Linked DNA regions of Homo sapiens: regions 2 and 3 are each linked to region 1. The links are contacts of gene promoters, found by promoter capture Hi-C in blood cells and fetal thymus (Javierre and others, 2016). All regions are on one chromosome and are shown on one strand. Each heading gives the region's core, a stretch centred on a gene start or on the middle of the fragment in contact. The rest is flanking DNA. Distances are from core to core; before and after follow the strand shown.

Region 1 (3,438 bases), core at 454-2,953:
CCGGGGTGGCTAAGGGCAAAATCCAAACCGCAGTGGGTTAAGAAGTGACTGAGTGGGGAGAATGTAGTCTGGATTTGGGATAAATTTAGGATAGAAAGGGATTGAGCCCCTATTAAAGGCTAGTGAGTGCGCCAGTCACTTTAGCACTGCTTTCTAATGTCATCCAAACAAAACTCTAAAAGGAATGTGTTGTTATTCACCATCAAAGAAGAAACTCAGATCTGGAGACATGGTGTGACTCCAGGAGCCTATCTTCTTTTCGATCAACTCCATTGCCCTACAGAGGGGAAGAGGGATAAATGCAATAGACATTGACTGAAGATTTTACTGCATATGGTCAAGAACTGCACTAAACATTTACATGGATTGCACACTGAAACTTCAGTTTAAATGCTAATTTCACTATTAATAGTGTGGTTATCTGGCCTGAGGCCAGAAATCAGACTCCCTGAATTTGGATCTCAGTTCTGTCACTTACTATGTATCCTTTTGCCTCAGTTTCCTCATCTGTAAAATGGGTTTTGCTGTGAAAATTATTTGGTAATATACTTGAAATATAAATAACAAGGCATGTCTAGAGCATAAGTGTGGAGAAAAATGTTAGCTCACAGTTGTTTTTTGTTTGTTTGTTTGTTTTTTGTTTTGAGACAAAGTTTGCTCTGTCACCCAGTCTGGAGTGCAGTGGCACAATCTCGGCTCACTGCAACCTCCATCTCCTGGATTCAAGCCATTCTCTTGCCGCAGCCTTCCCAGTAGCTGGGATTACATGTGCGCACCACCACGCCCAGCTAATTTTTGTATTTTTAGTAGAGATGAGGTTTCACCATGTTGGCAAGGCTGGTCTCGAACTCCTGACTTCGTGATCCACCCGCTTTGGCCTTCCAAAGTGCTGGGATTACAGGCCTGAGCCACTGCGCCAGGCTGCTCATAGTTTAATCTCCATTGTACAGCCATGACAAGAGAGAATTAGGAAGACAAAGCTAGCGACTCTTACATTCTGTTCCGGACTCCGGGATCTTCCACACACCCTTGTTTTTAGCCACCACTGCACCATCCTGCTGGGAAACCTTTTGGGGACCTGTAGGAAGGAAACCTTTGGGGGAAGCTGTAGGTGGGGTTGTGGTGTGTTTGCTTGTTTTCTTATTTGTTTTTAACATGATATTGACTCGCACATATTTCTCACCTCGAGAGAAGATGATGCGGGAGAGAGGGGCGTTATGATGGGTATGCTCTCAGAAAGACAGGAAGCTATGATGACGGGCTGCAGGTGCAGGGGCCCGCAGTGTCCGTCAGAAGAGGCTCGGGAAAGTAAGCGAGAATGGTGTTCACGTTGTGACTTTGTTTGGAATCATAAGACCGAAAAGCCAGGAAGAAGTTCTGTTTTCCTCTGCCCTCTTGCTAGCCACCACACAGCCACTGTTCTTGGAGAATTAAAAAAAAAAACAAACAAAAACAAAACAAAACAAAACAAAAAAACCGTCCCTCCTACCATTTCTTTAGTCCTGAATCTCCTTTTCCCTTCCTCTCCCCAGCCATCCCCACCCCTACTTCCTCTTCTCTCCCTCCCGCTGCCAGTTCTCTGGTTACTCCCCCCCTCCCTTGCTTCTATCCCAGCCTGGTGCAAGCTAAGAGGGCGAGGACGAGGGAGTGGGAGAGATTGGCTGAGGACTCTACAGATCAGCTAGAGAGCGAAAGAACTAAGTCTCTCTCTCTCATACACACACACACACGCACACACGCGCGCGCGCGCGCGCACACACACACACACGTACACTAAAAAACTCGGACCAGCCGCGCCGCAGCTGCTCCAATCCCTGGAAAAGGCAATCGAGCGCCCTCCGGACCGCTGCGCACAGCCCCGGCTCCGACCTGGCGCCCAAAACAGAGCTAGTCCTAGTCCCTCGCGCGGCCAGTTTGGCCGGGTGTTCCCAAAAATAAAGCGAGGAGGGAAGGTACAGACAGATCTTGAAAACACCCGGGCCACACACGCCGCGACCTACAGCTCTTTCTCAGCGTTGGAGTGGAGACGGCGCCCGCAGCGCCCTGCGCGGGTGAGGTCCGCGCAGCTGCTGGGGAAGAGCCCACCTGTCAGGCTGCGCTGGGTCAGCGCAGCAAGTGGGGCTGGCCGCTATCTCGCTGCACCCGGCCGCGTCCCGGGCTCCGTGCGCCCTCGCCCCAGCTGGTTTGGAGTTCAACCCTCGGCTCCGCCGCCGGCTCCTTGCGCCTTCGGAGTGTCCCGCAGCGACGCCGGGAGCCGACGCGCCGCGCGGGTACCTAGCCATGGCTGGGGCGAGCAGGCTGCTCTTTCTGTGGCTGGGCTGCTTCTGCGTGAGCCTGGCGCAGGGAGAGAGACCGAAGCCACCTTTCCCGGAGCTCCGCAAAGCTGTGCCAGGTGACCGCACGGCAGGTGGTGGCCCGGACTCCGAGCTGCAGCCGCAAGACAAGGTCTCTGAACACATGCTGCGGCTCTATGACAGGTACAGCACGGTCCAGGCGGCCCGGACACCGGGCTCCCTGGAGGGAGGCTCGCAGCCCTGGCGCCCTCGGCTCCTGCGCGAAGGCAACACGGTTCGCAGCTTTCGGGCGGCAGCAGCAGGTGAGTGCGCGAGGTGAGACTCCCTTCCCGCGGTCCCGCCCCAGCTTTCTCCCGGGACCCCCCACAGCTTCCTTGTCTGCCCCTTGCTTGGTGGCGCTGCCTAGGGACCTTTCTCCGCCCTCCTCAGCTGCCCTCTGGATTCCTCCGTCCAGTCACACCCCGCGTGTCGCCAGCTGCATCTCCTGTAAGCCCAGTTTTCAAATCCAAAGTGAGAGGGGGAAATAGAATGAAGGCGCGGAGCAGTGGAGGGGTAGGCTGGAGGAGCTTCGTGGAAAAAGGGAAGGGGCGACACCCCATGCCTGTGAGGCCTCCTGCCCTGAGTGACTGGAGCACCTCTAGGGTACCTTATTCTGTTGATTCCTAAATCGGCCAGCGGAAATTCCTTTGGACTGGGCTTTAGCCATGTTTACTAAGAGGCAGATGCCATTTTATGCCAATGCCAGGACCCGAGAGAAATCATACTTGAATAAGACGCCTTCCCCTCTCCTTTTCTCCTTCCCCAGTCGCTTCTCCAGATATTGCACCCGCTCCTAATTCGCGCCCTTTGTGTTACTGTACTATATTTGACACTTTACTTGATAGTTCCTTAGTGGCAAAAAAAAAAAAAAAAAAAAAAAAAACAGGTGCTTGGGTGTTTCGATTATTAAAACGCATCTGGGTAAACAGGGGTTGTACCATCCATCCTGGGAGGAGCTGGGAGACAAGGGGAGGGAGCAACCCTGGATGTAAACACCTCTTGGAATCTGCCCAAGAAAATCTGCTCATCCCATTTTTCAGCACAGATCACTTCGGACTGAAATTCATGGCTTAACAAGGTTTCTCCTAGCCCCTGTGGTGAAGGG
Region 2 (3,438 bases), core at 318-2,817, 500 kb before region 1:
AAATGCTAGTAAAAGAAATAAATCAGGCATGCTTTAAAATTTTTGCCTTTATACTTCTGGCATTTATATATTTATAGATAAATTTCTTTATACATTTTGTGTTAGTGTATAGTGCATAATTTTAAGTGTTTCTTAAAGTGTGAAACAAAGTACTTGTTAACTTTGCCAATTTTCAATATTTTAGCTTGTGGTTCAAAAATGTGTTTTTCAATTTCACTCCAGGGAACTAGGCACCACCTACAGTTGATATAATTTTCAATTTGCAATTATACTTCTAAATTTCCATCTTTTATTATCTTTTAAAGTCTGCAGAGAAAAACCTCAAAGATTATTTCAGACTGCAGCAACTGATAGTCACCTATTCAATATCCATTATGCCCTTTATTGAAAATAGATTTCTGATTTGTTCAAGGTGGCAATGTTCCTAGCTAAAAATACTAATTTTCCCAGCCTCCCTTGCATCTAGGTGTGGCTGTGTGACCCATTTCTGACTGATAAGATAGAAGTTTTTTTTTTTTTTTTTTTTTTTGAGATGGAGTTTCACTCTTGTTGCCCAGGCTGGAGTGCAATGGCACGATCTCGGCTCACTGCAACCTCTGTCCCCTGGATTCAAGCAATTCTCCTGTCTCAGCCTCCCAAGTAGCTGGGATTACAGTCATGCACCACCATGCCCAGCTAATTTTGTATTTTTTTAGTAGAGACGGGGTTTCTCCATTGTCGGTCAGGCTAGTCCCGAACTCCCGACCTCAGGTGATCCGCCTGCCTCAGCCTCCAAAAGTGCTGGGATTACAGGCGTGAGCCACTCCGCCCGGCCTAAGACAGAATTTGTTAATGGGGCTCTAGGAAAGATTTTTTAAGAGTCACGGATGACATGATGCTCCTCCCTATTCCCTTTGCCTCTTCTTGCTACTTAGATTTGAGCCATAGAGAAGCAAAATCCATCTTAAAATCTCAAGTATTTTATGTATTGTAGATTTTGGCTCTTTTGGAAATAGCTTATTACAGCTTAATATTTTTTCTATTTTTTAAATAAGACAAATTAGCATGTAGAAGGATGCAGCATTTTTCTAGGTTCTTTACTAAATGTTGGGAAAAAAACTGTCAGAAGGGAATGTGATATTAAAAAGTGGGAAGTAGTCCATTATAATCTTTTTGACTTTTTAAAAAAATTTCTTTGCACCATTCTAGCATGTATAACTGGAAAGCCACAAGTATCTTGCCTTGTTCACTTTTCTGTAGTGTGAAGTAGAGTTAGGATTGCCTTCTGCTATTTTTTAATCATTATGTGGCCTTGATCCAGTTGACTAATCAAGCTAAGCTTCAGTTTCCTCATTTGCAAAATAAGATTAAGTTATTTTCTCATTAATTAGTGAGGAGTAAATGACATACTATAGGTAAATTATATAAATCCCATTAAATCCTAGGGTCTGTGCCTGGCACATGGTAAGATTCAATTACATGTTAACTACTGTTATTGTGGTTGTTATTATTTCTGTTGATATTTATAAATCTCTGTGTTATTAAAGCAGTGAAATGTTTTTGAAATTAAATTTCAGTTGCAGACATTGTTCATAAAAGCAGGAAGAAAACTCTGCAAAGCTAGCAGTGACGGTAGGTCACTGGGGGTGGCTGCCAAGAAGGTACAAAGGACCTCCCACAAAGGGAAAGCTAGTGGCTAAGAACTTTTTCTGACCTTTTTTTTCTCATTACTTTAATGTCACTAGGCCACACATCTCAATACTAAAAACATCTTGATAATTTATTGTTTTTTTGTGTGTCTATTTCCCATCTAACAATATCCCAACCTTATGTATACTAAGCTTTATTGAATTCCTTCTAAGTATTGTCTACATTTGAAAAGATTTTCCCCTGCTCTACTGTAATCTGAGTTGAGCAATCTCACATGCATGTCTGCAGAGCAGGATTTAAGAACTCGTTAGAAATATTAAATCCAGAGGAAAACACAGGTGCAGGACTTCTGGCTTCAATTTCATTTGCATAATAGTAGCTGGGTAATTGAAGCTGTCAGTAGTTACCTGGCTAAATACAAAAGATAAGAACACTGTATTCAAGCATGTTTCTCTAAAAAGTTGAATGAATGTTGTTAACATTTACTAGTAAACACAGGTGTGGAATTCTAGGATTCCTTTTTATAAGTTCTTTTACTGGAATGTTCCAATCTCTTCTTATTTTTGACTCCTCTAGCTAGAAAAAATTTTTTGCCACTAAATCCCTTTTTCTTTTCAGGGTGGGTACCTTTTGCAATTTTAATTATAGAAGAGCCTTAACTGTTGGCAAAACAAAGCTATTTGGTTTCCTGCCTCAGGGAAAGTTTAAAAAAGGATTGCAGAAAATTGTATGCACTAAATATCTAAGATCCAGTTATTTCTCAAAGACATTTAATGTTTGAAAAAAAATTGCAAAGCCCTATGACAATAATTTAGCAATACATATTAAAAGCCTTTTAATGCAAATCAATTTTACATCACTTAGTGTACATGCTCCAAGGATGCTCATCAGAATTATTCATAACAAAAAATACCTGGGAAACCTTCTGCAGTGAAATATAGAATCCCACATATAGTTACATAGTAAGCTGTCCTTTAAAGTAGTGTTGTAAAAAAAACTGTTTCATGGGTATATGATCTGGATCTCTTATGTAAGAAATAAAGACAACAAATATGATAGGTTCATAATATTATGTACAAATAGTGGGAATATACATAAGCATTAATTGGATCCAGTACCATGTTCAGAGTTATCAGGGAACTACTCTGATTATTAGAATAGAACACCATGATTAATTAATGATATCTACCTCTGTAAAGTAAACTAACATCTACCATGCTACATACTTAAGATTCTTGTAAAAAACTGAAAAAGTGATTATTTCTGGGAGGTGGAACTAAAGGGAATTTTATTTTTCTTATTTTTTGCTTATCTTTATTTCTATCTTTGATAAAATCAATTTCTTATTTTTATAACATTGAAAAAGAGCAACAAAATATTTTTAAAGAATCTTTCCTTAAAAGCGTAAGTTATCTACAAATGTAATGAACAGAACTCACTCTGTGGAAAAAAAAAAAAAAAACAACCAAAATTTTCCTATTATATTTTTAAGGTTTGTAAAGTTTAGATAACTTTTACCACATAGTTCTATACAGAGATATTCCATCTCATCTAGCTTTTGGCAATTTATTCTTAGTTATATGTACTTAGATACAATGCACAATTAATCTTGATAATTGGAAACAAAATTCCCTCTTAACATTTTGATAACTTTTTTAGAGCTGAAAAAATTTACTTTTGTTTCATTTATGTACAGAAATGAGAAAACTTAGTGTAGCAGTCAATTGGATATAAAAATAAGATTTTGAATTTTCTACTATATGTTTAAAGTATAAAGACATATGTTTAAAGTATAAAGATACTTTCTTC
Region 3 (3,438 bases), core at 444-2,943, 430 kb before region 1:
TGAAGTTAAAAGTTTAGAAGTTTTCAGTATACAAATGCCACTATGAGATTAGATGTTATGCTAAAGAGTTTAGCATAGATAAACAAGAAGCCTGAGGACAGAGCCTAGGACACTCCAACGTATCATCCCCAAATAGACTTAGTTCTGTGCTACAGGCTAATGTACAAAACAGTGTACTAGTATGGAACACAGTGTGCTATAGATTCCTATTACCTGAATACTACTTTTAGAAATGTACCTACAATTGTATTGATTTATTACATTGGCTTGTGCCAGTCATGTCACAATATAAACTTCAATGTTATAGCAAACCAAAATGTGAGATATTTAAATATGAATTGTTATTAAGCCATGCCCTTCATTAACTACTACTAGAATTGATTAGTTTGAATATCAAAACAGCAATTAACATGTTTTCTTGAGCATTTAATGGTGTTTTCATGTTATTCAGATTATTTGTTCAAGCCTATCAGGGTATTTTGGAATCCTAAATAATTAATCCAAAATGTTAGCTCTTTCTCCTTTATTCAGGCATTCAACATAGGCAGATATGATAAGAAAGTGACTAATAGCAAATACCAGATACTATAGGATTATATCCTAAAATCTCTGACTGGTATGCTAGAGGCCTTCCTCCTCTAGGTGACATTGCTCCTAACTGCAAATCGTGTTTAAGCAAAGCTATTTAGTTGTACCTAACATACTGTTTCCTCAGATTTTCAAGCAAAGAAATCGTAAGAGAATACACCTTTCTCTGAATCCCCACTTCTTGTTATATCGAGGTAGGGTCCTAATGCTAGAAACTTGACCACATTCTTAGAGTAAATCACTTCCAGTATAGAGTTACTTCACCTCTGTGAAAAGGAATACCCAAAAGATGGTATGCGGCATGCCTAAATGTCATACTTTGGCCTCTAGCCACCTCCAACTATGTGAAAGTAAAAGCTTTATGCAAAATAGATTTTATTTGGCCAAATCCAAGGAGAAAGTCTTTAAGTATGCATTTATTTCAGTTGCAGCATTTACAAAGTGTCTGTTTTATGCAGTGCACTGTTCTATATATCATTAAGACATACAATGAATTATGGATCTCTGTCCTCCCACCTGATATCTAATCTCTACGTCTGTCCTTTACACTGCTGTTGAATCCACAGCTCTATAATCGTCTTCATTTTCTGCATAATTTGTTTATGAAATTACATCCTGTGATAGCACTCTTTCTTAAGACATCTCCATACGTTGTTGCAAGGTGCTTTTCTAACTCGTTATTAGCAGTGATGCTAGTTGGTCTTTACAGTTATGTGCCTAACATTCATATCCTGTGAACTATCCTTAATTCTCTACTGTTTTATATAGGTTTGGCAATGACAGATAAGAATCCTCAGTCTTATAGAGGTAAAGTGATGTAGTTAGTGACCCAGTCGGTCTAGAAAATAGTTTTTAAAAATCTTCTGTCCTATTATTTTTTTTTACTAGTCCACACAGTGTAACTTCAAAATTGCAGAGGTATTGAATTTAAGGACCCATATTAACAATGAGTACAAATTCAAAACTCTCTTAGGTTACCTCATGATTGCATTGTTACAAATTTCACATAAAATGAGGGCCTGCTTCTCCTGATCTTGTAGGATACTACTGTTACACCCACAGGGAATCTTTAAGGTCTGAAACTTGTGCTTAAGTTGTAAGGGATCATTTATTTTTGAAATATTTACAGTAATGCTTTTGTAAAGCATGCGACCAAATCATAATATGGGCCTTTAGCAATGATGCAAAGAAGGTTGTTGATTATCAATGGGAAACTTAGATGTTATATACTTGAAATTGGGATACAAAAACAAACAAAAAGCTGAAATTTATCAGATCTCAAAGGGAAAAATTAGTAATTCATGCATAATAAACAAGGAAAATATTTTTTAAAGTCAGGGTGTCCGAATGCCTCTGAGATCAGTTTAACATATATGTTCTACACTTATAAATAGCAGATTACCAAAATTCAAGCTGACCTTGGCCACTGTATGAGGGTGATATTTTTGAAAGAATGAGTTAGACTGAAACAGTTTCTGCAATATATTAGGCGCAAATATGCTTTCTTTCCATGTTAGGCATGCAGAACTTTTTCCCACCTGTTGACTTTTCCTTAAACAAACATATTATCTGATATAACTAGTCCAAAGAAAATTTTCTCTTCCTCTACGTGAATGAACTCCCCTTTTACCCTTTTGCTAAATCCTGGAGTTCTGATGTAGTTCAGGATGTTATATTACATCCATGTCACTTTTTGGAATCACTTCAATGGTATAGTGCCTTGAATTATTTTCAAACATTTAACCAGCTTCTGTTTAGGTCTGTTTTCTCTTTTGACAGTGTACGTTTATTTTCCAAATACAAATATAATACAGATTGGACTCCCTGTGCTGCTGTGAGCTTTTAAATTAAAAACAAGCTTTGTCTTACAGTCTTTAATAATTGTAAAAAGTGGCAAAATTAAGAATGTTTCATCAGTTTGTACTGTAGCTATCATGACAATTATTGCATACTGTGGTTATTTGCTTTCTTCTCACTATTGAAAAGGTCAGTTTTTTGTTGTTGTTGTTGTTGTTTCATGGGAATAAACAACTCCTGAGGAATGGTTCTGTGTATCCAAAATACAAAGCAAGTTTCTGGGACATGGATTTACACTTATTCTGTGGTAAAGATAGTAGGCTATAAGTTAAATTTTAAATTCATAGTTGAATTCTGATACTTACTAGTTGAACCACTTTGGAAAAAGGCTTTGCCCTTTCTATGCCTTAGTTTCATCAGTTGTAGAAAGAGGGTAACTATTGTATCCACCTGATGGATTATAGAATGATTTAAATGAGATGGAGTAAGTGATGTGCTTCATATGGTGTCTGTATTTATTGAATGCTTAACAAATATTAGTTGTTATTAAGACTCATATATGAGAGTGTTATATAAAGCTGCAACCTTCCCAGATGGTTAGAGAGAAGAATCAATAGGAAAAAACTTTAAAAGTTTTATAGCTTTTAGTTAGCAGATAATGAAATTGAGACTCAAAGAGGTGATAACTTATTATACACATCTTTGTTATCTAAGATTAATTGGAGAAGTTTAGTTTTTAATCTCACTATTTTATCATGTGACATTATTTAAAGTAGAAAATTTGTGCTCCTATAACTTAGCTTTGCCTAAATTTTGAGTGGATCTGACTTAGATACTTCTTAAAATTTTTCATGTGATAAATTTTCCTTGACTACACATACCATATTTTGTGCATTTTGAGATGTAAGTCATATGAATAAATAAATGCTGTTAGAGTTTGAGGGCATTATTTACTATGACTTCATTATGCCCCACCTACCTTTGCAATTAGTTGAGAGAAAATTCTAAAATCAGATAGAATGAAAAAATAATATTAACTCTTAAACAGATAAA

What was found. The method cuts DNA at HindIII sites, captures the fragments that hold promoters and counts their contacts. A CHiCAGO score of 5 or more calls a contact.
Region 2: a contact is called between a fragment that was not itself captured here and the fragment with the promoter of BMP3 in region 1, in 1 of 17 cell types (naive B cells). The highest score is 5.4, in naive B cells.
Region 3: a contact is called between a fragment that was not itself captured here and the fragment with the promoter of BMP3 in region 1, in 2 of 17 cell types (total B cells and naive B cells). The highest score is 5.1, in total B cells.

What each region holds. Positions count from the first base shown.
Region 1 is chr4:81,029,005-81,032,442 of GRCh38, forward strand. It overlaps BMP3 (bone morphogenetic protein 3), which reads left to right and starts at 1,704. Exons shown (of 3, transcript NM_001201.5): 1 at 1,704-2,596. The coding sequence starts at 2,281. The HindIII fragment of the contact is 6,285 bases long and covers 1-3,438 here.
Region 2 is chr4:80,531,242-80,534,679 of GRCh38, forward strand. The region is part of intron 2 of CFAP299 (cilia and flagella associated protein 299); the gene reads left to right. Among named protein-coding and RNA genes, the nearest start is that of CFAP299, 200 kb to the left of the region's middle. The HindIII fragment of the contact is 502 bases long and covers 1,317-1,818 here.
Region 3 is chr4:80,598,105-80,601,542 of GRCh38, forward strand. The region is part of intron 3 of CFAP299 (cilia and flagella associated protein 299); the gene reads left to right. Among named protein-coding and RNA genes, the nearest start is that of CFAP299, 260 kb to the left of the region's middle. The HindIII fragment of the contact is 1,501 bases long and covers 944-2,444 here.